5 separate regions of the Homo sapiens genome follow, and regions 1, 2, 4 and 5 are each linked to region 3. The links are contacts of gene promoters, found by promoter capture Hi-C in human tissues and cell types (Jung and others, 2019). All regions are on one chromosome and are shown on one strand. The core of a region is centred on a gene start or on the middle of the fragment in contact, and the rest is flanking DNA. Distances in the headings are between cores, read along the strand shown.

Region 1 (4,645 bases), core at 1,396-3,895, 280 kb before region 3:
ATCCTTCCAACAGGGCCTAGAACAAACCAGGTTCTTCTTCACCTCAAGGCCTTTGCTATTATGCTTTCCTGAATTGCTTTCCTGGCTTTTTCCTTCCTCTCTTTCAGTTCAAAAATCATACCTTCCCCAAGGCCTTTTCTGATCCCAATTATCCCTGGTACCTTCCTCCCTGCAGACATTCACACCAGCGATGTGTTCATTTCCCTGTAATGTGCAGTTAGATATTTGAATGCTTCTAATGTACCGTCGGTTGGAGGAGTGGCAGCTGCAAAATTGCAGACTAGGAAGCTCCAAGCTGTCATTCACCCCATGGAAGCACCAAGAAAACAACCAGAGACTGGTTTAGAACTAATATAGGAGCTCTGGAAAACAGTCAAAGGTTTACAGCACCCAGGTGAATACCTAATCAAGAAAAAGCCACCTTCAAACAGCAGAAAAAGTTTTGTGGCATTTTTACTCCCTTTTGCCCAACCCCCTCCCTGGCACAGCAGCCCATTTCCCTCCCTTGAGCCAGAGGGAGCAAGCCTACCTTACTGGCAACACTCTAACTGGTCTGAGGCCTGCCTGGAGGACAGCTCTCTGTTTTGTCTAACTAAAATCTCAGGTAGAGGGAAGCTGAGGGCACTGTTGGTGGAAGCTGCAGGGAGACTATAGACCCATAGATGACTGGGGCAAGAGATTATGAGTGGACACACACAATAGACCATCTGTGGCCCTAAGGAGAAGCTGGGTGCTGGGGTAAGATTCTTTGAAAAAGTAAGACATTCAAAAGCAGCTGTACATATGGAGGAATTGAGTAAGCCACATTTAGGAGCAGGCAAGATTCATTCTCAGAAAAGACCTGAGAAGACCTGAAGCTTTCACCTTGGTGAAGGATTGTGTAACACAGAGTCAGTTTGCAAAGCCTGGGAGAGGCAGCTGTTTTTTCAAATGTCCAGTTTTCAACAACAACAACAACAAAAACACAACAAAGAAGTAGAAAACATGGCTCATTCAAAGGAATAAAATAAATTGACAGGAACTATCCCTAAGGAAGCCCAGACATTGGACTTACTAGATAAAGACTTTGAAACAACTGTCTTAAAAATGCTCAAAGAGCTAAAGAAAACCACAGAAAAATAACTAAAGGAAATCAGAAGAATGATATATGAACCAAATTATAATATCAACAAAGAGATAGAAATTATAAAAGGGAACCAAATATAAATTATGGAACTGAAAAATACAATAACTGAAATGAAAAATTCACTAGAAGAGTTCAACAGCACATTTGAGAGAAAACAAATAACAAAATTGCAAAAGTTCCTAATTACCAGTAATTAGTTTAAATGTAAATGGATTAAACTCACCAATCAAAAGGCATAAATTGACAGGATGAATTTTTTTAAATATCCAACTATATGCTGTCTACAAAAGACTCATTTTAGATACAAATAGATTGAATGTGAAAACATGAAAAAATATATTTCATACAAATAGTAACCAAACGAGATCTGAGATGGCTATACGAATGCTATACATAATAGTCAAATATGTTTACAAGAGACAAAAAACATTATATACTGATAAAAGTGTCAATTCATCAAGCAGATATAACAATTACATACATATATGCACCAAATAGCAGAGTTCTAATGTATTATTCACCCTGCTCCCCAGACGTTATTCCATGAGAGCAAGAACTGGATCTGGCTTGCTTACTGCTTTGTTCTCATACCAGGCATTTATGACTAACACACATTTGCTCAATTTCCACTATCCCCACTAGGTGACCACAGCAAAAGTGGACAGATAGCGTCTGGCAAGCTTCAGGCAGGAGCTTGAACCTGACCATCTTCAGCTGTCCCAGCTGTCACCTCCAGAAATCTGAGATCCTTTCCTTGCCATCCATGGTCCAACCATGAAAATAGGAGTGAAGGTGTTTAGGAATTGTGATCAACTCTAGTCTCCCCAGCCAAGCACTTCAGGGCTTACGGCTGCATATCAGGGAATCCAGGGGACCAAGGGAGGCGGGTGAGTTCACCATTGGAGTTGTCCAGTCTGAATGGCCAGTGTTACCCATGAGGACCCTGAGGCTCAGAGAGGGCAGGGAACCAGCTGGAAGTCACACAACAAGCTAGTGGCAGAGCTGCTGACTGCCTACCACCTGCTGTTTCTCTAAGTTGCCTTGGCGACTGCCTCAGGGACTGCCCATAGCATGCAATCTCTCTAAGTTATCCCTTCCCCTCCATTTCCCCTTTCATTTCTCCTTTTCTTCGTGTTATTTTTTGTTCTCCATCCCTATACCACACCAGGCCTCTCACGGCCTTTCCTAGATTTCTGAGTTAGACCATCTCATTTGACCCCCACAATGACCTGTGAAAGAAGTGCCTTTTAAAGCCCCATTTTCCAGATTAGATAACTGAAACCCTGAGATAGAAAGAGGTCAGCCAGTGACGCCATGTGGGCCTAGAACTCTGCCCAGCCTCTTTACTCCAGGTTCCAAGGCCTTGTCTGCCCTCAAAAGTATCAAGAGATTTATTTAAGCAAAAAACATCATGCTCACTACAAGCTTCTTAAGAAAGCCTTCTTCCAATCACCAAGACCCCTGGCTGTCTTTCTCCTGTGGATTTTCCCTTTCATCTCAGGATGACCGCGAGATATGAATGTTACCCTCCAAGCTGTAGCATGCAGGAAGGCTGGGGCCCAGACCTCAAGCTGAAGGCATTAGGGTGGGTGTAGGGTGTGCCCAGTTCTAGACAATTTCAACCTCAACAAGCTCAGTGCATTTGCCACTTGATAAGTGCTGAGCTGAATGGTTTGCAGGTGTTACCTCAAATTCATGCCCATCATGCTTAATAAGGTCAAAACCCTTACTTCATTTTGCAATGGAGGACACAGTTTCAGAAGGGGAAGTGGGTTGCACAAGAGCACTGATGGTCATTAGCTGGTCTGCTGGGCCTTGCTCTTAACCCCCTCCTTGTCTTGGATCAGGGACCACAGGGTCTGTGGGTGGTGGTGCATGCAAAACATGAAGATGTACAGAAGGATCAGAGCTTGTGTAAATGTGTGGATTTTTCCAGGTTGCCTTGCCATCACTTGTTTTTTCTTCTAGAGAGTGAGGGGCAGGGAGAGTTCAGGTGGGAAGGCCCGGGATATTTTTGCTGAAACCATCTGTTCTAGGCCTACTTCTGAAATGCCCTGATCCACATAGGGGAGGGGGAAAACAGAGATGGTCGAGAGTCCAGCCAACGTCTAGGGGCAAAGATGAGGGGCTCAGAACTCAGCAATTCGGCCCATCAGTCAGGGATAGCAGCCTAAAACTGTGGTCAGCCATGGGGTCTGGAGAAGACTGGGTGGGATGGATGGGGAAATGTTTCTAGAAGGAAGAAGGAGACTCTGGTTCACCCCCAGTTTGCAGGATGGAGTCATTGTGCCTTTAGGGAAGAGTGAGCAGCTGGCTGGAGGTCTATACTCCTGCCTGCTTGGTCTGGAGTTTCTCTCACCCTGGTCACTTGATCCTCTTACTTTTCCTGTCAGTGAGGAAGCTGTTTACTCCCAGAAAGTCATTCATTCCCTGATAAGATCAATCTCATTGTTAAGCAGAATTTTCACTTCCTGCCCGGGAGTTGGCGTAGCGCGAATGTCCAGCATTCAGAGCCCCATAAACAGTCAGCATGAGAGAGGCCCTAGAGGCCAACACTGCCCAACAGCTCCTGATGTAAAAATGGGGAAACTGAGGTCCAGAGAGAGGAAGAGCAGGGAAAGGAGTCAGTGTCAGAGCTGAGCCCAAATCCAGGCCCTGCCACCGCTACTCCACCATTCCTAGGTCAGGTGGTGTTTTGCATGCCATCAAAGAACCCCACAATTTCATGCGCTCCCTTTTGATTTTAAGATTCAACATGCCATTCTAAGAAAACTTGCTAAGAAAACATTTCAACACAATATAATATTTTAATGTAACACTAATATACTATTATAACATTGCATTCAAATATAATGTTCTAACACAGATTAATATTCTAATTCAACATTTCAGCACAATTCTAACCAATATTCTAATCCTACACTCTGGAGCAACATACCATTCTAACACATAACATTACATCATGTCCTAATGCAATATTATAAGACATTGTACCACAACATTCCAATCTAGGCTGCTAACGCAATATGACATTTCTGTATTATTTGAATGCAATTCTAATACGACACTCTAAAATAACTAAGTTATTACTCTAATATTAAGAATTCTGAGATTTTAAGCCTCTGGAATGTCCACTGGACAAGGTGATGTCATGCCAGTTTGTGATTCATGACGCCAGAGCCCTTCCTAGTTCCAGCGGCCCCCAGGACCCAGGTCAGGTAGGTCCAGCTGTCTAGCTTTGTAGAGGGAGGGCAGGTCCTTCCCAAGGCACAGGGCAGGGACTCCTTGACCTCTGGTAGCTACCTGTCTCCTCCAAGCCACATGCTTTTGTGGGCTCTGGGTTGGGGTAAGGGAGAAGGAGGAAGAGGCCACCCATTCTGGGCTCACTTTGAGCCTGCTGGGACAGGCAAGAATGATCCCAATATTCAGACCAGGCACTTCTTGCCAGTTTCTATGTGGGTTACTAGGACTAAGAATAAGAGGAAGATAGTCAGGTTCCTGAGGCAGCACTGACTCCTT
Region 2 (5,042 bases), core at 923-3,422, 320 kb before region 3:
ATTAAATATGGGTAAGGGTACCTGGGTGTCTGCTATATTCTGTATTTTTGAAATATTTCATATCAGAAAATATAATTTTAAGAATTAGTAAAAGGTGATGCCCATGACGACAGGGACTTTATTTTGCTCGTTGCTGCATCCCCAGCACTGAGCACAGGGTCTGGCATACAGTGGATATTCATTATTATTAAATGAATAATAAACATTTAAAAAAAAAACTGTAACAATGACATTAATAGAACAAAGATGTTTAGAAAGGGAGTCTGGGACCAGATAATAACAAGATCAAACATTCGTAAGTAAGTCACTGCATGCCAGGCACTGTTATGTGTGTTTTATAAGGAATAATTCATTTAATCTTCACAGGACAGCTATGAAGTAGGTCCTCATTTTTTTCCTGTTATATAAAGAAACTGGTATTAAATAGTCAAGTAACTCACAAGATCCCACAAGTTGTAAAGTGGCACAGCTAGGATTAAAACCCAGACAGCGAGCCCCTGGAACCTGCGCTTATAACCACAATACACATGATCAGAAATCCATGAGGAATTTCATTTCCCCATTTATGAAATGAGGCTTTGGGCAAAAACCCTGAAAGCTGGATGCTTCCAGGGTTAATGTCCACCCCACCTGACTGCCCATTCACCTCAGAGCACTTGGGAGAGATTCATGGTTGTTTTCAGGGGCTCTGCCAGGGCCCTGTGGGTGACTTCGCAGGTGATCTCAGATGAGACATCCTGTCGGGTCAGTGTCACCCATGCCTTGCTGGTGATGAAGTCATTGCCTCCATTGTCAGGCACCAGGCGCTGAGCTGAGGCTGGATGTTCATCACTGTCCTTCAACCACGTAACATTGAAGTCCCGGGAGAAGTCCTGGGAGTTGAAGGGGACAGCAGTACAGTTGAAAGGCACTGAGTCTCCAGGGCTTGTCCTGTGAGATGGACCAGTCAGAGAGATGAAGGGCTGTCCAGCTAAGGAAAGAGCAATTGTGATTGTACACTGAGAGTGGGACACACCCCACAGGCACCAGTGGCACCAGAGCTGTGTCAGGCCCTGGGGGCCTACTATATGCTGTGTCTGATTCTGTCTTCAGGCAGCATATCGGCATTTGATCATAAGAAAACAAGCAAATGCAAATGTGATTATGACTGATCCCAGTGCCATCAAGGAAACCCAAAGACTGCATAGATGGAGAATACAGGGAGGACTTATTCTAGAAGGGCAGCTGGGGAAGAATTACTTGAGGAGGTGACATCATTGAGCTGAAACTCAGGAATGAATAGGAGCCAGCAATGGGAAGGGACAGAGGAAGGACATTCCAGACAGCGGGGACAGCAGGAGAGAAGGACCTCAGGCAGGAAGGGCTTGGTGGGCTTGAGAAACTGAGAAGTCTGTAGGGGACCCTAGTGTCATGGCAAAGAGGTCCAGAGTGAGAAGAGCCTGGGGACCATGGTGATGATCTTGATTCTATTCTGAGAGTGATGGGAAACCAGCAGAGACTTTAACAGAGGGGCAAAGTGGTCTGATGTACATTTTTTAGAGGATAACTGGGGTTGTTGTGTGGAGAATGGGAAGGAGCGTGGCAGGAATGGAAGCAGGGAGACCAGTGGGGAAGCTGGTACAGACCTCCAGGCCAAGGTGATGGTAGCCTGGACTAGGGTGGTGAGAAAAGGAGGCTCGAGACACATTTGGAAGATACAGCCCACAGGACTCAGTGATGGGCGGGATGGGGGGTGAGGGACAGAATGAATTCTGGATCAACAATTCCCAGGTTTTCTCTAGAGCAGCTGTGTGGGTGGTAGCTCTACTTTTTGAGCTGGGAAGATCTGGAGAAGGACCAAGTTGGGATAGGAAGGGAATGGTGATGAATCAGGATTTCCATTGTGGATGTAAGTTTATAAGGACTTGAGTGTAAAGTCAAGAATCACCCCAACAGGGATGGTTGGCCCCCCTACTCGGGTGCCTCCCATCAACACTTCACTAGACCCCCGTTGTCTGCTTGCTTACCTGCAGTGACAGGGAGCTGTCTCCATGAGAAGCAGCTCCATTCACCCTCACACCCAGCTAGGACTATGACAAAATATTTCCTGCTTCTGGGATATAACCTGGGATCTGTCTCCCAGAATTTTCCCAGGAAAACTGCAGGATGAGACTCACCCCTCCTTCTAAGGACAGCCTTGCAGAGCTCTGGAGCAAGAAACTCCCCAAGTCTTCACAGCATTCCCTAAGCCCCTGCTCTGCACCAGGTCAAGAGCTGGGTGCTGAGACCACAGAGATGAGTCAGACAGGACCCCCACCCTTGAGAAGCATCTGGTCAGATGGGGGTGAAAGGCAAATAAACAACCAATGACAAGCAGGATGACAGGCAGAGGGCAGCGCAGGAGGCCATAGGAACTTGTCCTCTTAGCACACAGCTCTGGTACCTTCTGGACTGTGCTCTGCCCTCATCACCCACCCTGCACACAGCACCGTGTGGTTCAGAAAACATTTTCAGCCATGTGTGCTTCTTTTCTTCCACATCTCAGCTGTGGGAGGCTGGTATTATTGTCCTCACTTTCCAGAAAAGGAAACAGAGATTCAGAAAGGTCTCGTGACTTGCTCAAGGTCACACAGCCTATCAGTGACTAAAGAGGGAGGGTAAGAAGGCCTGTCTGACTTTGGGTCCAGGACTCTTCCATGCCTCCAATGCCGGAGGCTCCATCACTCTGGCGACTTCTCTCTCTCTCTTTTTTTTCTCTCTCTCTCTTTCTTTCTCTCGCTCTGTCTTTTCCACCCTTACACCCTCTCTGACCCAGAACAGGTAGCCACCCAGACTAGAGCTGACATCGGGAAAACTGGGAGGTGGGCTCCTCTTTTACCCCCTGACCTCCCCCGAGCCCCTCACCCTTAGGTCACTTCCTCTTCTGACCCCCAAGCTCCCACCAGCTCCCTTTGTCCGCAAGGTCTACATTGAAGAAAAGATGCAAAACAGCACCTGACTGGCAGGAAAACAGCTCAGTCACCTCCTCTGAGCCTCAGTCTTCCTTCAGAAAGACACAGTGGCTGGATTTGGTCATTCCTGGGGGTCTCCTTGCCTGCCCTGAGGGTCTCTCTGGGCAGGAATCAGGACTCACCTGTGAGTCCCAGCAGAAGGGTGGGCAGGAGGGAGCCCAGGGCCCGCCCAGGTGTGGTAGCCATGGTGAGAGACTCACAGTGCTCCTGGTCTGTTCCTGGTGGCAACCACTGGATAAGGCCCTGAAAGAGCCCAGGAGCCACTGACCAGCCTCTGACAGCCTGGAGCAGGCCTTATACTTCCCAGCTGCCTACCCCACCCCATTCTCTGCCATGCCTGGAACAGAGGCCTGAGCCACAGTGAGGGAAGTGGTCACTGTGGCCACGGCCTCCTTCCAAGCTGCAAACCTTCAGGCCTGAGGTGTCTAACCAGGGAGGCATCTGGAGCCTTTTAATGGGTTCCGACTGTCCCTGATTCCCCATGAGCAAAACCAGAAAGCGGCTGAGCTCTGCCTCAAGCTTCAAGCCACAGAGCTGGCCTCTGATAGGCTGAGCCTTGATGTCCCTTGTCCTGGAGGCTCCTCCATGCTGAACAAGCAGCATCAAGAGCCTGCCCTGTCCCAGGCCCAGACACGGCTTCTGGGAATGCAGAATGGATCAGATATGGGCCCAGAGGGTTGAGAAGTGAGCCTTGACATACACAACCACGTGCAACCAAGAAAGACCCTAGACTTTGAAACCCAACCCTTGCCTCACAGCTTAACTGGGCTTGGACAATGGTGGCACGGATTTCCCATGGCCCAGAACTGTCTACTAGGCTCCACGTTGGGGAAACATGAGTTTGAAACACAGCCACCAGTTTCCCTGACCTCCCTATGAAAACAACCTCTCCCTTTGGTCTCTCTCCATTTCCTTACCCTACGTTACTGGGCTTTCCAATGGTTAGCCCTGATGTATATTACTCGTTTTTATCCATTTCCCTCATGAAAAACAAATGATTTGCCCTGAAGACTACTGCTTTTTGTTCATGGCTGTAACCAGCAGCCACACAGTGCTGGGCACAGAATAGATACTCGCTAATAACAAATGAACCTTTGGGGCCAGGTATGTTCTCAAGACTGATTACAAAGCAGCCAAGCCCAGCCTGCTCCCCAGCCATCCCATCTCTTTGGGGTCTGTACGCTCAGCTAAAGTGGAGGGAGAGGCTAGAGAGGAGTTTTCTAGCCTGGGTGAGGCTGTTATGGAAACTCCCCTGACCTCACAACCCCCCACCACTACTCAGCCAAGCAAGGCACCCCAAAATGACTCCTAGATATTACGTGCCTGCAGGAGGAGGAGGCTGGCTTTTCTTTTTCCAGGTGTCTCCTGAAGCAACAGTGGATTTGCTGATCCACCTTGATGTTGCCCTGAGCAGGAGAAAAAGGAACTGAAAAGAGACAGCAGGGTAGAGTGACGGGGTGGCAGGGCAGCAGCTCAAGCTTCCTCCATGCAGAGTGGCAAGGGGGTGAGGTCCATGGAGAGACCCTCATTGAAAGGGGGGAGCCGACCTTAGAGCATCCCACTCAAGAGAGATGACCACTGGCAAGAGGGCCTAGGAGTAAGAGACTGCAGCATGGACTCCAGCGGGGAGCTGTGAACCTGGATCAGATCATGCATAAAAGAGACTGTGCAGCAGACTGTGTACCCCCACAGCATACACACATGGGCACACACACGTGCACATGCATGCACACATGCACACATTCAGGATCCTCCTAGGAATCCACACCTGTGCCCTAGGAGGCAGCTGGCTTCCAGAGTCCAGCCATAGTGAACAGAGCATTGCTGGGTAAAAGAAGTCCCTCTTTTTCCATCTCCCTTCCCAGGCCCTAACACACCAGATGATAGACAGACCCAATTCAGGGAAAGGAGGAGGGACAAAAGAATGCTTCACCTCCATCCCTTCCAGATCCCTCAGCAGGGACTTGGAGGCAGCAGTGGGCTGGGGTGAGAGAAGGAAGTGGACGCTGAACTAGATGTAATGTTGGCATTTTCAACCAGACTAGTTTGGAC
Region 3 (5,004 bases), core at 1,166-3,665:
GCATCCAAATAGGAAAGGAAAAAGTTAAATTATCCTTGTTTGCATATTATATCTTATATTTGGAAAAACCTAAAGACTCCACCAAAAAACTGTTAGAACTGATAAACAAATTCCGTACAGTTGCAGGATACAAAATCAACATACAAAAATCAGTAGCATTTCTATATGTTAACAGTGAACAATCTGAAAAAGAAATTTAAAAAGTAATCCCATTTACAATAGCCATAAATAAAAATACCTAGGAATTAATTTAAAGAAATGAAAGATCTCTATAATGAAAACTATAAAACACTGATTAAAGAAATTGAAGAGGACACACAAAAAATGGAAAGATATTTCATGTTCATGGATAGGAAGAATCAACATTGGTTAAAATGTCCATACTACCCAAAGCAATCTAAAGAGTCAATGCAATCCCTATCAAAATACCAATGACATTCTTCACAGAAATAGAAAAAAGGTTATGGTTAAAAAGACCTTCTGATCACCATTTTGCAACTGTAATAATTGTTTCAAGCAAGAATCACCATGAATTCTGAAACCAGTGGGTAAGAGTCTAAAGAAGAGGATATTTAAATAGTCTCAAAATATCTTCCCACAGAATACTTAATAGTTACAGAAGGAAAAATCGTAACTTTATGGTAGAGTGTAACTACTCCTACACCACCTCAACCAAATGATGGAAGTTAACACCACGAATACTGGGACAAACACAATGCCATGTGCCTCCTGATGAAAGGCCCTGAGGAGGCAACTTTTTTCAGCAGTAGTCCTGCCAAAAAATGCATACCCTCTCAGAATAGCAAGGGATGGGTTGGTGGGGGGTGGGGGAGGAGAGAAAAATGGATACTCTGAAACTAATAAGAAAACACAGATGAATAAAAATTTAGGGACATTCTACAATATAACTCGCCAGTATTCTTCAAAAATGTCAAGGTCATGAAAGACAAAGAAAGGCTGGATAACTAACTGCCCTTCCAGATTAAAAGAAACTAAAGAGGCATGACAACTCAGTGCAACGTCTGATCCTGAATTGGATCCTGGGGAATAGCTATAAAGGACATTATTGGGACCATTAGCAAAATTTAAATATGGATGGAGTGTATTAAATAAAACAATTGTATCATTGTTAAAATTCCTGATTTTTGACCACTGTACTGAGATTATGCCAGATAATGTCTTTTTTTTAAGGAAACACACACATATATTTAGGATAAAGGAGTTTGATGTTGGAAACTCTAAAATGATGTAGTAAAAAAGAATATATACATTATATATGTGTGTGTGTGAATATCTATATACCGTATACTGATTTCCTTTCTTTTGGGGTATATACCATATAGATATCCACACACAATATGTATTTGTGTGTATATATACACATACACGAGAGGATATGGATATGCAGCAAAATATAACAATTTGTTATTCTAGTGGAAAAGTATATGATCTTTACGATTCTTGAAATTTATGTGTAAATTTGAAATTTAATCACAAAAAAGTTAAGAGGTTTTCAGCGACCAAATACATTATAAGAAATGGCCTGTATCCAGTGAGCACTCTTTAGCTCATTCTTTTTCTCCATCACACTTACCACTGGCAAAAATTATCCTGTGCATTTATTTAATAATACTTAACATTGTGTGCAAGGCTGTCCTAAGTGCTTTACCTGTATAACCTCTGTGGATCTTCTTACAGGTAAGGAACAAATACACAAGAAGGTTGACTAACTTGCCCAAGGCCACCCATGTGGTTTGTCTCCTGCAGTGGCACAGAACCTCAACCAAGGCAGAAACTGCCTTGTCTATTGCTCTTTCCCCAGCGACTTGGAATGGTGCCTAGCACATTACGGGTGTTCAATAAACATCTGTAGATTCAGTTAACAAACACTGGGCACCCACTAGGCCTACACTGGAATACAAAATACAGAACAAAATATTCAAAAATCTGTGCCTAAATGGGAGCTTTGGGTACTAACAGCCCCACACCCAATTAGCCTCCATCTAGGTATTTCATTTGGGTCTATCATTCCTGGGAATTAAAGCCCATTCTATCCATTTTGCAGAGGATCATTAGATAAACGGATGCTCAGGGTGGGTCAATGATTTGCACAAGATCACTGGGCTGGTAGAAGGGAAGGTCGGGATTCCAACCCAGTCCCTGAGGTTCCCAGGACAGAGCTATGAATCAAACGACCAAGACAATCACCCAGTCAGTATTTATTAGGCGCCTACTGCGGACGGTTGGTCTTCACGCAGATCAGGCGAGAAGGGATAGTGATGCGCGGGCCGCTGCGGAGACCCGGAGCCCGCCGCGGATCACGGGAATTTCGCGCCTATTTTTTGTTGGCTGGGTGTTCTCGCCAGTGATTGGGTCCCGGCAAGGCGTGCCGGTGCGCTCGGCTGCGGCTGCTCCGTCGACCTTTGCAGGACCGGGCGGTGCAGGGCTCACTCGGCTGGCGTCCCGGGGGATGGGCCACCAGGAGTCTCCGCTGGCCCGGGCGCCGGCGGGAGGTGCAGCTTATGTAAAGAGGTTATGTAAAGGGCTCAGCTGGCGCGAACACGTGGAAAGCCACGGGAGCCTAGGAGCCCAGGCTTCCCCAGCGAGCGCCGCGGCAGCAGAAGGATCCGCTACACGCCGGGCTCGGGCCGCCACCTCCCGCGCTGCTCGGTCCCGGAGGCAGCCCGGGCCCGGAGCGGACCATCCCCAGGCAGGGGCTCCAGGGGGGAAACGGGCCGCCCGGAAGTGGAGGTGCGCGGGCCAGGTAAGGGCGCCGTTGGAGGACTGAAGGCCAGCGCCGAGGCTGGAGTTACTGCCACTGCCTCCGCGCTTGGGAAGGGAAATCGGGTCCTCGGCCAGTCGCACTCCGAGAAGCCGAACTTTTCAGCCAATCCCTTCTACCCGTCGCCCTCGGGGACTTGGGTCGGTCCGCTGGGCTCCGCTAGGGCTTAATTCAATGGACTGTTTACACCCGGGCGAACACAAGGCGGGGCGCGGGGAGGAGCGTCACAGAGGGGGCCAAGCAAAGAAAAATATTTCCGCCGGCCAAATCGCGTCTCTAAGCGGTTTTCAGAAGGCGTGAAGCTTGCTGGCTCTTCTTTTTCCTATCGCTACATGACAAGCTAACAGAGAGAGCGGAGAGTTTGTGCTTTTCTTTCCGGTTCCCCCTCTGAGCTGCTGCCCAGTGGTTCGGTCTTTCCCGCTTTCCCCTCCCCTCCCCCGTTCAATCAGCGGCGGTGGCTTCCGTCTTAAAGGGGCCGCGGCGGCCGGGGGAGGAGGAGGTGGGACGCCCCGCGGCCTACGCTCCTGGCCTCCCCGCCTTGGCCTGGCCGTTTAACCGATTCTTTCGCCCGCAGGTCACAATCCAAGGTCCGGCTCCTCCGCGTCCCAGGGCCGGACGGAGGGATGAGGCAGGGGGGGCCCGGGCAGCGCCGTTGCTGCTCCCCCCGCCGCCCGCAGCCATGGAAACGGGGAAGGACGGCGCCCGCAGAGGTACACAAAGCCCGGAGCGGAAAAGGCGAAGCCCAGTGCCGCGGGCGCCCAGCACGAAGCTGAGGCCGGCGGCGGCGGCCCGGGCCATGGATCCGGTGGCGGCCGAGGCCCCGGGCGAGGCCTTCCTGGCGCGGCGACGGCCTGAGGGCGGTGGCGGGTCCGCGCGGCCGCGTTACAGCCTGTTGGCGGAGATCGGGCGCGGCAGCTACGGCGTGGTTTATGAGGCAGTGGCCGGGCGCAGCGGGGCCCGGGTGGCGGTCAAGAAGATCCGCTGCGACGCCCCCGAGAACGTGGAGCTGGCGCTGGCTGAATTCTGGGCCCTCACCAGCCTCAAGCGGCGCCACCAGAACGTCGTGCAGTTTGAGGAGTGCGTCCTGCAGCGCAATGGGTTAGCCCAGCGCATGAGTCACGGCAACAAGAGCTCGCAGCTTTACCTGCGCCTGGTGGAGACCTCGCTGAAAGGTAGGAGCACCGCGGGCCTTTCCACCCACGCAGGGCCTGGACCCCCTGCTCTCCGGACGGCTTGGCCCACACTGTTCCTGGCCTTCCTAGGCCTCAGACCTGGTCCCTGTCACCCTGTGCCCTGACACACCCTCCTTTCCTGGGCCCAGGCATTCGGCCCTCTCTTCTCAGGTCCTAAGATCAGTCCCTGGGCCTAAAGTTGGCTGGTGTTTCCATAACAAGAGCTCGTTTAAGTGCTAACCATTAACTTAATAAGTGCTCAAGAATTGCGAGCTATGGTTATTAAACGTCTTCTATTTTTAAGATCGGTTGGGGGAGTGGAGGAGGGGTCGGGTTCAGTTAGTAGCAGAACTGCGGAGCCTCCTCACCCCCGAGGGCCTCTCTCTTTCCCTCCCAAAACAAACAAAAAGAAAAAACTTGACTGGACCCACCCACACCCTCTCCCTGTCTGGTTCCAAGTTTCCTGACACCCTCCAGCTCCAACCCCCAAACTCCTGTGGCTTCCTCGTCTGCCTTTTCCTCTGAGGCCCCCGGCCCTTCATCCCAGGCAGCCGAGCAAACTGACTGTCTTCTGGCTTGGTCCTCTGAGGGGTGCAGGCTGACAACCCTCACAGGTGGCCTGAGAGCTGTCACATAACAAAGCATCCGGCATCTTTTCCCTCCGTTTTACATTCTTAATCTTTTTCTTAACCTCAGAGGCTGGCTGGGAAGTGGTTTTACTTAAAAGGAAAATGGGGTACATTGAGGCAAGAGGTCTTGCAGTCCTGGAGGAACTAATTATCTTAGTTTCCGGGTTTTAACTGCAGTTAGGGAATGTATTCATCCTAACTACTCAGTACTCACAAGCCTTTTTCATACTACCAGTAGCTAAGTGTCTGCTTGGAGAGGAGAGAGGCGGTAGAAAGTTTGAGGAGACTTTCCGAGGCAGGAGGATCCAGGGGAAGAAAGTTTACTAATCCGAGTCCCAGCTGTGGTCTCAGTGCTGAAGTAATTTTTAGGTAATAACTTCAAAAGTAAATTCTATCCTTTTTCTATAAATAAACTAAGGCT
Region 4 (5,003 bases), core at 908-3,407, 390 kb after region 3:
GTGGAAGAGAAAACAGTATGACCAGAGAAAAATAAAAACAAAACCTAGTTGGACTAACCAGCTAAGGCCAAATCAAAACACACAAAACCATTTACAAAAATTATAAATCATTTTTTTAAAAGGAAAAACACACACAGAACGAGTCCGAAATGGATGAATCTACAGTGATTTAGATGGAGCCAGGTCAGATGGGCGCTAGTTCAAACCAGAGCGAATCAGATCAAAACACATCAAAGAAGATGAAAATGGAATAAAGTAAATCTGATTAAATCATATCAGGGAAACAGCCACGCCATTTGGAGCAAACTCCCAAAGAAACTCCTCCCTGAAACTGGTTTGTGTCTCCAAAAATGTGATTCTTCTCTACATGTTTTATCTAGAAACATAGGAATATCTAGAACAGTACTATCCAGTATAGCAGCCACTGGCCATGTGCTCATTGAGCACTTGAAACATGGCTAATCTGAACTAAGATGTGCTCTAAGTGTAAAATACAACCAGGTTTCAAAGACAGTACAAAAAAATAAGTAAAATACCTAATTAATAAGTTTTATGTTAATTTCATGTTAAAATGATATTTTAATATATTGGATTAAATAATATATATAGTCTTAAAGTTGATTTCACCTGTAGTTATACTTGTAAAAATGTGGTTACTAGGAAATTTAAACTTACCTATGTGGCTCACATTATATTTCTACTAGACAGCACTGATCTAGAACAAGGAGTGGAAAATGACTACCCACAAGCTAAATCCAGTCCTCTGTTTTTGTATCACCTACAAGCTAAGAATGGTTTTTACATTTTTAAATGGCTAGAAAAAAGTAAAAAGAGTAGTAATATTTCATGATACATAAACATTATATTAAATTCAAATTTCAGTGTCTATAAAGAAAGTTTTATTGGAACATATCAATGCTCATCCGTTCACATACTGTTTATGGCTGCAACTCAATGGCAAGTTAAGGGTTGTTACAGAGGGCTTATCACCTGTAAAAACAGTTATTGTTTGGCCCTTTACAGAAAAAGTTGGCCAACCCCTGATCTAGAGTTATGTTGCAATTGATAACATTTATCAACCCAGATTTAAATATTTTTTTATTTTTTTTTATTTTTTCAGACTGAGTTTCACTCTGTCACCAGGCTGGAGTGCAACGGCACAATCTCGGCTCACTGCAACCTCTGACTCCCTGGTTCAAGTGATTCTCCTGCCTCAGGCTCCCAAGTAGCTGAGATTACAGGCACATGCCACCATGCTCAGCTAATTTTTGTATTTTTAGTAGAGATGGGATTTCACTATGTTGGCCAGGATGGTCTCGATCTCCTGACCTCGTTTAGGTTTGTAAACAAATGAAAAAGAAAAAAACATAGTTTATGAAACCCCCAAACCACAATAAACTTGACTCTTAATTTTAACTTATGTCACAGAGCTGCATCTCTCCCCCTTGCAAACCATGCCCCCAGCCTTGCTTGCCTCCTTGCAGCTTCATATACTGGGCAGGTACATCCCTTCATTAAGGTCTTCGTGTCAATAATTCCCTTCACCTGAAATGCTCTTACACTAGATACCTACAGTTCTAACCTCCTCACCACATTATGTCTTTAGACAAATATTACTTCTTCACTGATTTCAAATACCCAGTTTTAAACTTCAGCCAGCCACCCTATCACACCCAATACCCCTTTATCCTGCCTTATTTCATTATTTTTTACTATGTTGCACTTATCACCTTTTAACATACCATATTATAATATCCCTGTATATGAGGCTTTTTGTTTGTTGTCTGTCTCCTTACACTAGAAAGTAAGCCCCATGGAGGCAGGGATTACGATTTTGTTTACTAATGTGTTGTAAGTATCTAGAACATTTTTTTGTGGTACATATTAGGTGATCAGTAAATCTCTACTGAATTAATGAAGGAAAGGAAAGAACACAGCCTTACCCAATGAGAGAAGATTCCTGTAATTCTCCAGCATCACTTCTTTGTATAGATTCCTCTGCTCTGGACTCAGTCTCTTCCATTCTGCTTCTGTGAAGATCACAGTCACATCCCTGAATGTAACTGGTACCTACAAACAACCAGTAAATTAATGTATAGCAAGCCACCATCAATCTTCCCTGTGTGTGGAGCACAGCTGGTGACCCTGGAGAGCCTGGATATGCAAGTTGATGTAATTCGTCAGAATATATGGTTCTCCATATGAAGTTCTTCTGAGCACTACTGTCTGCCTGGCTTTCTGTTAAAACCTGTGAGGAGCATAACTGAGCACAGAACACATTCTAGGCCCTTGACATATATGATTTCACCGGAGAAATGATTTGTGAATTAATTTGTAAACCTCAGGCTGTGTTTAAGACAGTGACTTTGAGGATTCATAATGAAGGAATTCAGAGATGAAACAGCAGAGAATGGGCTGCAGAAGGAACAAAAGCATCATGGACTTGGGGCTTGTGCTGGGCAGTAGGGAGTGGTAAAGATTTAGAGGAGAGAATGGAAGAAAACTTGGATTACAGAGAAAAATGGGAGTGAACAGATGGGGTCTGGAATGAGCATTTTTTAAAAGCTCAGGTTACTAAATGGGATCTGTAAAATCCCTGTCTTTGCTATGTGCTTTGACAACTTTTTTCAAGAAAGCCTAATGCTTCACTCATCTACCCAGATGTTGACCGCCTTTTCCTTTCCCAAGAAAGAGAATATATGTCTATTCTCTGGAAAATGAGCCAGCACTTCAGGAAAAAAAAAAAATGTAACCCCAACTCACCACTATTTGGGCCTTTCCCTCCTTTTTCTGGGGGCAGTCAGTATCATTAGAAGGCAAGCCTAGGGAAAGAAAAAGAAGCTATGAGAAACCAGACCCCCCCACCCCCCACCCCCCACCATGACGCTCCCTGAGCAGCTCTTCTGAGCCTTAGGATGAAGGAAGTAGTCACTTAACTCAGAGGTGACCTCTGAAGCATTTTCAGGTGAACCTGGAGCCTTGGCTTCCTCTTCATCCCTCCGGCTCCCTCAACAATTCTCACCTTTCGCTTTATGATTTTGGGTCAATTTCTTCATAGTCTCTACATTTTCCCCATTCTTTGGAAGCAAAATCTCTTCCCAGTATTGATCTCCCAGTGCTGAAGGATAAGGCAACATCATGGCGCCAGAGTCAGCCCAGTGTGTGCCTTGAAATTCTGCCAGAGGTCCAGGTAGATGTTATTTCATCTCAAGATGGAGTTCTGCTGCCTGTGGTGACTTCTTCCAACCTTAATTATAAAAAGCCCAGCTTGTTTCCCTGCAGCCAGGACCTGTGGGATGAAGAAGCAATTTGCTATTGCTGGGGCTTTTATTGTGGGCCCTAGGCCTATGCCTCTTCAACAGGGATCCTGTCCTCTCACACCCTCCTCATTCAACAAACACGGAGTCTCCATCTACATGGGATCCCTGGATTTTCTACCTTCATTCACTCTACCTTCATTTCTAGGCCCTCCTGCTTGTGTTCTGCCACTCTCCCTTAGCTCTCAAACTTTACTTCTTCTGCCTCTGCACCTCAGATTCAAACTCTATGTTTTGGATCAGTCTCTGCTACTACCTGAAGCCTGAGTCAGAGAGAAGACAGAATATAGCATAATGCCTGTGGAGAAAGAGCCTCTGACTGTTTCCTGTAGACCAACTGGGGCGTGCAGAACTCAGCTTCTGATTCCCCTGCCCCAACCCAAGGTTCCATCTATATTCAGTTCCTTGTGTCTTGGATGGGCACAGTGGTTCACACCTGTAATCTCAGTACTTTGGGAGGCCACGGCAAGCTAATCACTTAAGCTCAGGAGCTCAAGACCAGTCTGGGCAACATAGCGAAATGCCGTCTCTACAAAAAATACAAAAATCAGCTGGGCATGGTGGTGTGCGCCTGTAGTCCCAGCTACTCAGCAGGCTGAGGTGGGAGGATCACCTGACCTCGGGAAGTCGAGGCTGCAGTGAGCTGAGATCATGCCATTGCACTCTAGCCTGGACGGCAGGAGTAAGACCCTGTCTCAAGAAAAAAAAAAAAAATCCCTATGTCCCTGTATTGTGAGGAGTTTAGGAGATCAAAACTCAGTCCTTCTTAGTTAAGGGAGAGCTCCAGTTCTCACAATTACTCTGAAGAGATAACCTCCTAGCTTCCATTGCTATGCATGTCTACCACATGACCTTACCACAGATGTGCATTTGTGTATCCTGATGGGCCCAAGTCAAAGTCCTACACTGATGTGGTCCCAAAGAAGGCAGGTGGTATTAGGAGCTATGCCACCTTCAAAAGCTCCTCAGACGCTGTCCAGGATTTCAGCCCAAATGGCTACAGGCCTATTGTTGCCTAGTACCCTTCTGAGACTAGCTGGGGTCTCTAAGCAGCTCTTGTAATTCATCCCTCAACACCATAGGTAGAGATGACCACTCCCTCTTCTGTCCAACCTGGCCATCATACCATATTGCAATTTCTCTATTTACGTGACTGTCTTTACTAAACTGTGAAGCTTCTTGTAAGATGAAATGCTTCTCAGTCTTTTTGCTAATATAATTCTAGTGATTAGAATAAAAGAGGCCTTTGTGGTAGATTTTATCATCGTTCCCAATTATTTGTTGCCCTATAAAAGGATGGTACTTCCCTGTCCCAGACATCAGGCTTGACCTTGTAACTTGCCTTGGAAAATGAATGTGAGTGAAAGCGACGATGCCATTTCTAAGCATTGCATAATTCCACCATTTCTTTTGTTCTGAGAACAGCATGTCCGAAGAGGGACTGTGGTTCTACTGTAAAAAGTCATGGTACAAAGCTAAAGCCAACCTATAGTACCTGCAGTATAACGTAGCTGAAGCTGACAAAGCCTTTCTCCTAGTAACACTAGTATCTGTAGCTAACAGTTATAAAGCAAGATCTGTACTAAGTGCAGACTTTTTTTTTTCTTTTTTCTTTTTTTTTTTTTTGAGACAGAGTCTCACCCTGTTGCCCAGGCTGGAGTGCAGTGGTGCAATCTTGGCTCACCG
Region 5 (5,358 bases), core at 1,137-3,636, 360 kb before region 3:
TGGTCTATCCTGTGGCTCCAGAGTCTACGTCACGGTCACACCCAGGCCTCCAGGAGCAGTATCTAGTTCTGTAAGACAGAAAGTTCTATTTCTTTCTTTCCTCTTTCTTTCTCTGTCTTTCTCTTTCCTTCCCTTCTCTCTTTCCTTCTTTCTTTTTCCCTTCCTTCCTTTTCTTTCTCTTTCTTTCCCTCCCTCCCTCTTTCTCTTTTTCTTTCTGTCTTTTCTTCTTTCTTTTTCTTTCTTTCTTTCTCTCTTCCTTTCTTTCTTTCCTTCTTTCTCCTTCCTTCCTTCCTTCCCTCCTTTCTTCTTTTTCCCTCCCTCCCTCCCTTCCTTTCTTCCTGCTATATTCACCATGTGAAAAGATTCTGCAGCCTCCTCCGGGCTTTCTTCATTCTACCCGAAAAGGCAAATGACTTCACTTTCTAAAGTAGCATCAGCAACCGCTCTTTTGTGGCAGGAGGAACAGGAATTGAAGACCCAGCAGAAAGCAGAAGTCAACTGCTATAGACAGCCTTGACATAGCTTAAGCTAAAGGCTTTGAACGAGAATAAAACAAAATACATAAGCCCTCCAACATGTCAGAAGAAGATAGATTTTTAGAAAAAATAAGGTTGCCCTTTCCTTTCATCTGCTTAAGGAAAAAAAAAAAGAGAGCGGGTGGGGGCCGTGACTGGCTTCATCAAGCCAGTAAAAGACAATGAAGGTCCATAAAATACTCTATGGTATTACTTTACTTCAAAATAGTAGTTTTCCTCAGGCCACTGAAAAAATGGTAGCAACCTATAAATGTATACATTTGAAAAAAAAAGTTTAGGTCCAAGGTAATGACTAATCTCTGAGTCTGTGCCTATAAAGAGAAACAATGATTCCTCGACACATACACTCTCCCAAGACTAAACCAGGAAGAAGTTGAATCTCTGAATAGACCAATAACAGGAGCTGAAATTGTGGCAATAATCAATAGTTTACCAACCAAAAAGAGTCCAGGACCAGATGGATTCACAGCCGAATTCTACCAGAGGTACAAGGAGGAACTGGTACCATTCCTTCTAAAACTATTCCAATCAATAGAAAAAGAGGGAATCCTCCCTAACTCATTTTATGAGGCCAGCATCATTCTGATACCAAAGCCGGGCAGAGACACAACCAAAAAAGAGAATTTTAGACCAATATCCTTGATGAACATTGATGCAAAAATCCTCAATAAAATACTGGCAAACCAAATCCAGCAGCACATCAAAAAGCTTATCCACCATGATCAAGTGGGCTTCATCCCTGGGATGCAAGGCTGGTTCAATATACGCAAATCAATAAATGTAATCCAGCATATAAACAGAGCCAAAGACAAAAACCACATGATTATCTCAATAGATGCAGAAAAAGCCTTTGACAAAATTCAACAACCCTTCATGCTAAAAACTCTCAATAAATTAGGTATTGATGGGACGTATTTCAAAATAATAAGAGCTATCTATGACAAACCCACAGCCAATATCATACTGAATGGGCAAAAACTGGAAGCATTCCCTTTGAAAACTGGCACAAGACAGGGATGCCCTCTCTCACCGCTCCTATTCAACATAGTGTTGGAAGTTCTGGCCAGGGCAATCAGGCAGGAGAAGGAAATAAAGGGTATTCAATTAGGAAAAGAGGAAGTCAAATTGTCCCTGTTTGCAGACGACATGATTGTTTATCTAGAAAACCCCGTTGTCTCAGCCCAAAATCTCCTTAAGCTGATAAGCAACTTCAGCAAAGTCTCAGGATACAAAATCAATGTACAAAAATCACAAGCATTCTTATACACCAACAACAGACAAACAGAGAGCCAAATCATGAGTGAACTCCCATTCACAATTGCTTCAAAGAGAATAAAATACCTAGGAATCCAACTTACAAGGGATGTGAAGGACCTCTTCAAGGAGGACTACAAACCACTGCTCAAGGAAATAAAAGAGGATACAAACAAATGGAAGAACATTCCATGCTCATGGGTAGGAAGAATCAATATCGTGAAAATGGCCATATTGCCCAAGGTAATTTACAGATTCAATGCCATCCCCATCAAGCTACCAATGACTTTCTTCACAGAATTGGAAAAAACTACTTTAAAGTTCATATGGAACCAAAAAAGAGCCCGCATCGCCAAGTCAATCCTAAGCCAAAAGAACAAAGCTGGAGGCATCACACTACCTGACTTCAAACTATACTACAAGGCTACAGTAACCAAAACAGCATGGTACTGGTACCAAAACAGAGATATAGATCAATGGAACACAACAGAGCCCTCAGAAATAACGCCACATACCTACAACTATCCGATCTTTGACAAACCTGAGAAAAACAAGCAATGGGGAAAGGATTCCCTATTTAATAAATGGTGCTGTGAAAACTGGCTAGCCATATGTAGAAAGCTGAAACTGGATCCCTTCCTTGCACCTTATACAAAAATCAATTCAAGATGGATTAAAGATTTAAACGTTAGACCTAAAACCATAAAAACCCTAGAAGAAAACCTAGACATTACCATTCAGGACATAGGCGTGGGCAAGGACTTCATGTCCAAAACACCAAAAGCAATGGCAACAAAAGCCAAAATTGACAAATGGGATCTAATTAAACTAAAGAGCTTCAGCACAGCAAAAGAAACTACCATCAGAGTGAACAGGCAACCTACAACATGGGGGAAAATTTTCGCAACCTACTCATCTGACAAAGGGCTAATATCCAGAATCTACAATGAACTCAAACAAATTTACAAGAAAAAAACAAACAACCCCATCAAAAAGTGGGCGAAGGACATGAACAGACACTTCTCAAAAGAAGACATTTATGCAGCCAAAAAATACATGAAAAAATGCTCATCATCACTGGCCATCAGAGAAATGCAAATCAAAACCACTATGAGATATCATCTCACACCAGTTAGAATGGCAATCATTAAAAAGTCAGGAAACAACAGGTGCTGGAGAGGATGTGGAGAAATAGGAACACTTTTACACTGTTGGTGGGACTGTAAACTAGTTCAACCCTTGTGGAAGTCAGTGTGGCGATTCCTCAGGGATCTAGAACTAGAAATACCATTTGACCCAGCCATCCCATTACTGGGTATATACCCAAAGGACTATAAATCATGCTGCTATAAAGACACATGCACACGTATGTTTATTGCGGCATTATTCACAATAGCAAAGACTTGGAACCAACCCAAATGTCCAACAATGATAGACTGGATTAAGAAAATGTGGCACATATACACCATGGAATACTATGCAGCCATAAAAAATGATGAGTTCATGTCCTTTGTAGGGACATGGATGAAATTGGAAACCATCATTCTCAGTAAACTATCGCAAGAACAAAAAACCAAACACCGCATATTCTCACTCATAGGTGGGAATTGAACAGTGAGATCACATGGACACAGGAAGGGGAATATCACACTCTGGGGACTGTGGTGGGGTCGGGGGAGGGGGGAGGGATAGCATTGGGAGATATACCTAATGCTAGATGACGAGTTAGTGGGTGCAGCGCACCAGCATGGCACATGTATACATATGTAACTAACCTGCACAATGTGCACATGTACCCTAAAACTTAAAGTATAATAAAAAAATAAAAAATAAAAATAAATTAAAAAAAAAGAGAAACAATGATTATGACAAAAGAAGATGTTAGAGAAGGAAAATGGAAAAACTTGAGTAGAAATGTACACACAAGTGCTCCCCATTCTGGTCTCATGCTTCTAAACAGCCTTTTCCCTGAAAGCCTTCCAAACTAGTTCTGCTTGGGCAAGATGTATGTCTAAATTCTTTTGCTTTTATCAGTTGTCAAGAACATAATGTTGAGTTCAAAGGATAACCAAACCTTGAATCTGATTAGCTTTTATTCCATTCTCACTTGCAAAAATCATGAACTAAGCTTTATTTAGCCCTTCACTGGGATATCTGTAACGACATGGATCAGACTCCTTGAAGTGACTGCGATATGGCCAGACTTCATAGAAAACTGTGTTGGCTGATGGAGACTCTCAATATTTATAGGAAAGTCATGTGTAATGAGATGGGACTTCTACAGATTAATTGTCCCACCACTGGAGGAAGTGCAGCTGCCCTGGGTGCAGCCCTGCCTCTTTTTGCTCTGCTGCCTTAGGCCATTGGAGCTACCACTTCTAGTACAAGCCCTTCTGCTCTCCCAAGCCCTTGGCATAAGTGTCAAGATCTCTGAAGTGTTGTCTGAAAGTTCTCTTGCTTGGTTTCAGGTGCTTCCCCCTCACTCCTGACCCTGAGGATGGGAGGAAACTTGCTATAGCCCTTAACGACTCCTTCCAAAGATCTTTCCTTTCCCTGCTTCTCTGTACTTTTGTTTTTTTTTTGTAGCAACTTTATTCATAATAATCCCACACTGGAAATAACACAAATATTCATCAGCAAATACATAAACCAATTGTGGTATATTACAATGAAATCCTATTCAGCAATAAAAATAAAAAGCTACAGACATATGCAACAGCAAGTATCTCTAAACATGTTAAGGTAAAGAAACTAAACACAAGAGTATATACTATCTGATTTAATTCATATGAAATTCTAAATCAGGGAAGAAAACTAACCTTCCAGTAACAGAAGGTGGATCAGTGGTGACCTAGGGCTGGGGAGAATGACTGCAAAGGGAGAGGAAATTTATTCTGGTAAGAAAATGTTCTTTACTTTGATTGGGGGTGGTGGTTACATGGTTGTACACGGTCATCAAAGATCATTGAACTCTACAGTAAAAATGGCTACACTTAATTATAGTAAATTATACTTTCATTAAGTTGATCAGAAAGAAAAAACGTCCCAATGAGGCGATAGTCAAAAGTCACCACACCAGTGTCTGTCTTAATATTTGAATAGGCACTAAATTTCTAGGTTTCTATTTGTTTCATAGCACATGTCAGGGGGCCAAGTTTCCATCTAAATAAATGGCTTAATGAATTAAATTATATAGAGGAAGATACTTTTATATATATATATACTTCTTTTATTTTCAGAGATAGGGTCTTCCTCTGTCACCCAGCGTGGAGTGCAGTAGTGCAATTATAGCTCATTGCAGCCAGCCTAAAAGAGGAAGATATAACAAAATTATTCAAGAAATGAATCAAAGCCTATGGTCTAAATGTTTTCCAACTGAGTGATTAACTTTTGATATGCTATTTTGTGTTTATGTTTGAATCCTGAGTTGTCAAGTGTTTAGAAAAATCTGTCAAGTACACAAGTCTACCTTTGTGGTAGTTGGATCAAAATATTAAATCTCTTATCAAATGTTTAAGAAAATGTGATTAACAAATTATGTAAGTGGTATCAAATGTTCAGGATAATT

The links. Contacts are between HindIII fragments. The study calls those that stand out against the background at their distance.
Region 1: a contact is called between a fragment that was not itself captured here and the fragment with the promoter of STK35 in region 3, in 1 of the 25 tissues and cell types used here (dorsolateral prefrontal cortex).
Region 2: a fragment that was not itself captured here is called in contact with the fragment with the promoter of STK35 in region 3 in 1 of the 25 tissues and cell types used here (spleen).
Region 4: a fragment that was not itself captured here is called in contact with the fragment with the promoter of STK35 in region 3 in 1 of the 25 tissues and cell types used here (aorta).
Region 5: a contact is called between a fragment that was not itself captured here and the fragment with the promoter of STK35 in region 3, in 1 of the 25 tissues and cell types used here (lymphoblastoid cells).

The regions. Positions count from the first base shown.
Region 1 is chr20:1,821,501-1,826,145 of GRCh38, forward strand. No RefSeq gene overlaps it. Among named protein-coding and RNA genes, the nearest start is that of SIRPA, 72 kb to the right of the region's middle. The HindIII fragment of the contact is 6,431 bases long and covers 1-4,645 here.
Region 2 is chr20:1,779,016-1,784,057 of GRCh38, forward strand. It overlaps the pseudogene LOC100289473. Among named protein-coding and RNA genes, the nearest start is that of SIRPA, 110 kb to the right of the region's middle. The HindIII fragment of the contact is 3,631 bases long and covers 358-3,988 here.
Region 3 is chr20:2,099,412-2,104,415 of GRCh38, forward strand. It overlaps STK35 (serine/threonine kinase 35), which reads left to right and starts at 2,416. Exons shown (of 4, transcript NM_080836.4): 1 at 2,416-2,764; 2 at 3,357-3,954. The coding sequence starts at 2,471. RefSeq lists silencers at 2,302-2,491, 2,592-2,881, 2,892-2,941, 3,232-3,761, 3,782-3,831 and an enhancer at 3,177-4,145. The HindIII fragment of the contact is 6,364 bases long and covers 1-5,004 here.
Region 4 is chr20:2,490,756-2,495,758 of GRCh38, forward strand. It overlaps ZNF343 (zinc finger protein 343), which reads right to left. Exons shown (of 6, transcript NM_024325.6): 3 at 3,023-3,289; 4 at 2,764-2,822; 5 at 1,944-2,070. The coding sequence starts at 3,140. Among named protein-coding and RNA genes, the nearest start is that of ZNF343, 16 kb to the right of the region's middle. The HindIII fragment of the contact is 5,941 bases long and covers 1-5,003 here.
Region 5 is chr20:1,741,415-1,746,772 of GRCh38, forward strand. LOC124904858 (a long non-coding RNA gene) reads right to left here and starts at 912. Exons shown (of 3, transcript XR_007067498.1): 1 at 352-912; 2 at 1-68. The HindIII fragment of the contact is 4,864 bases long and covers 1-4,818 here.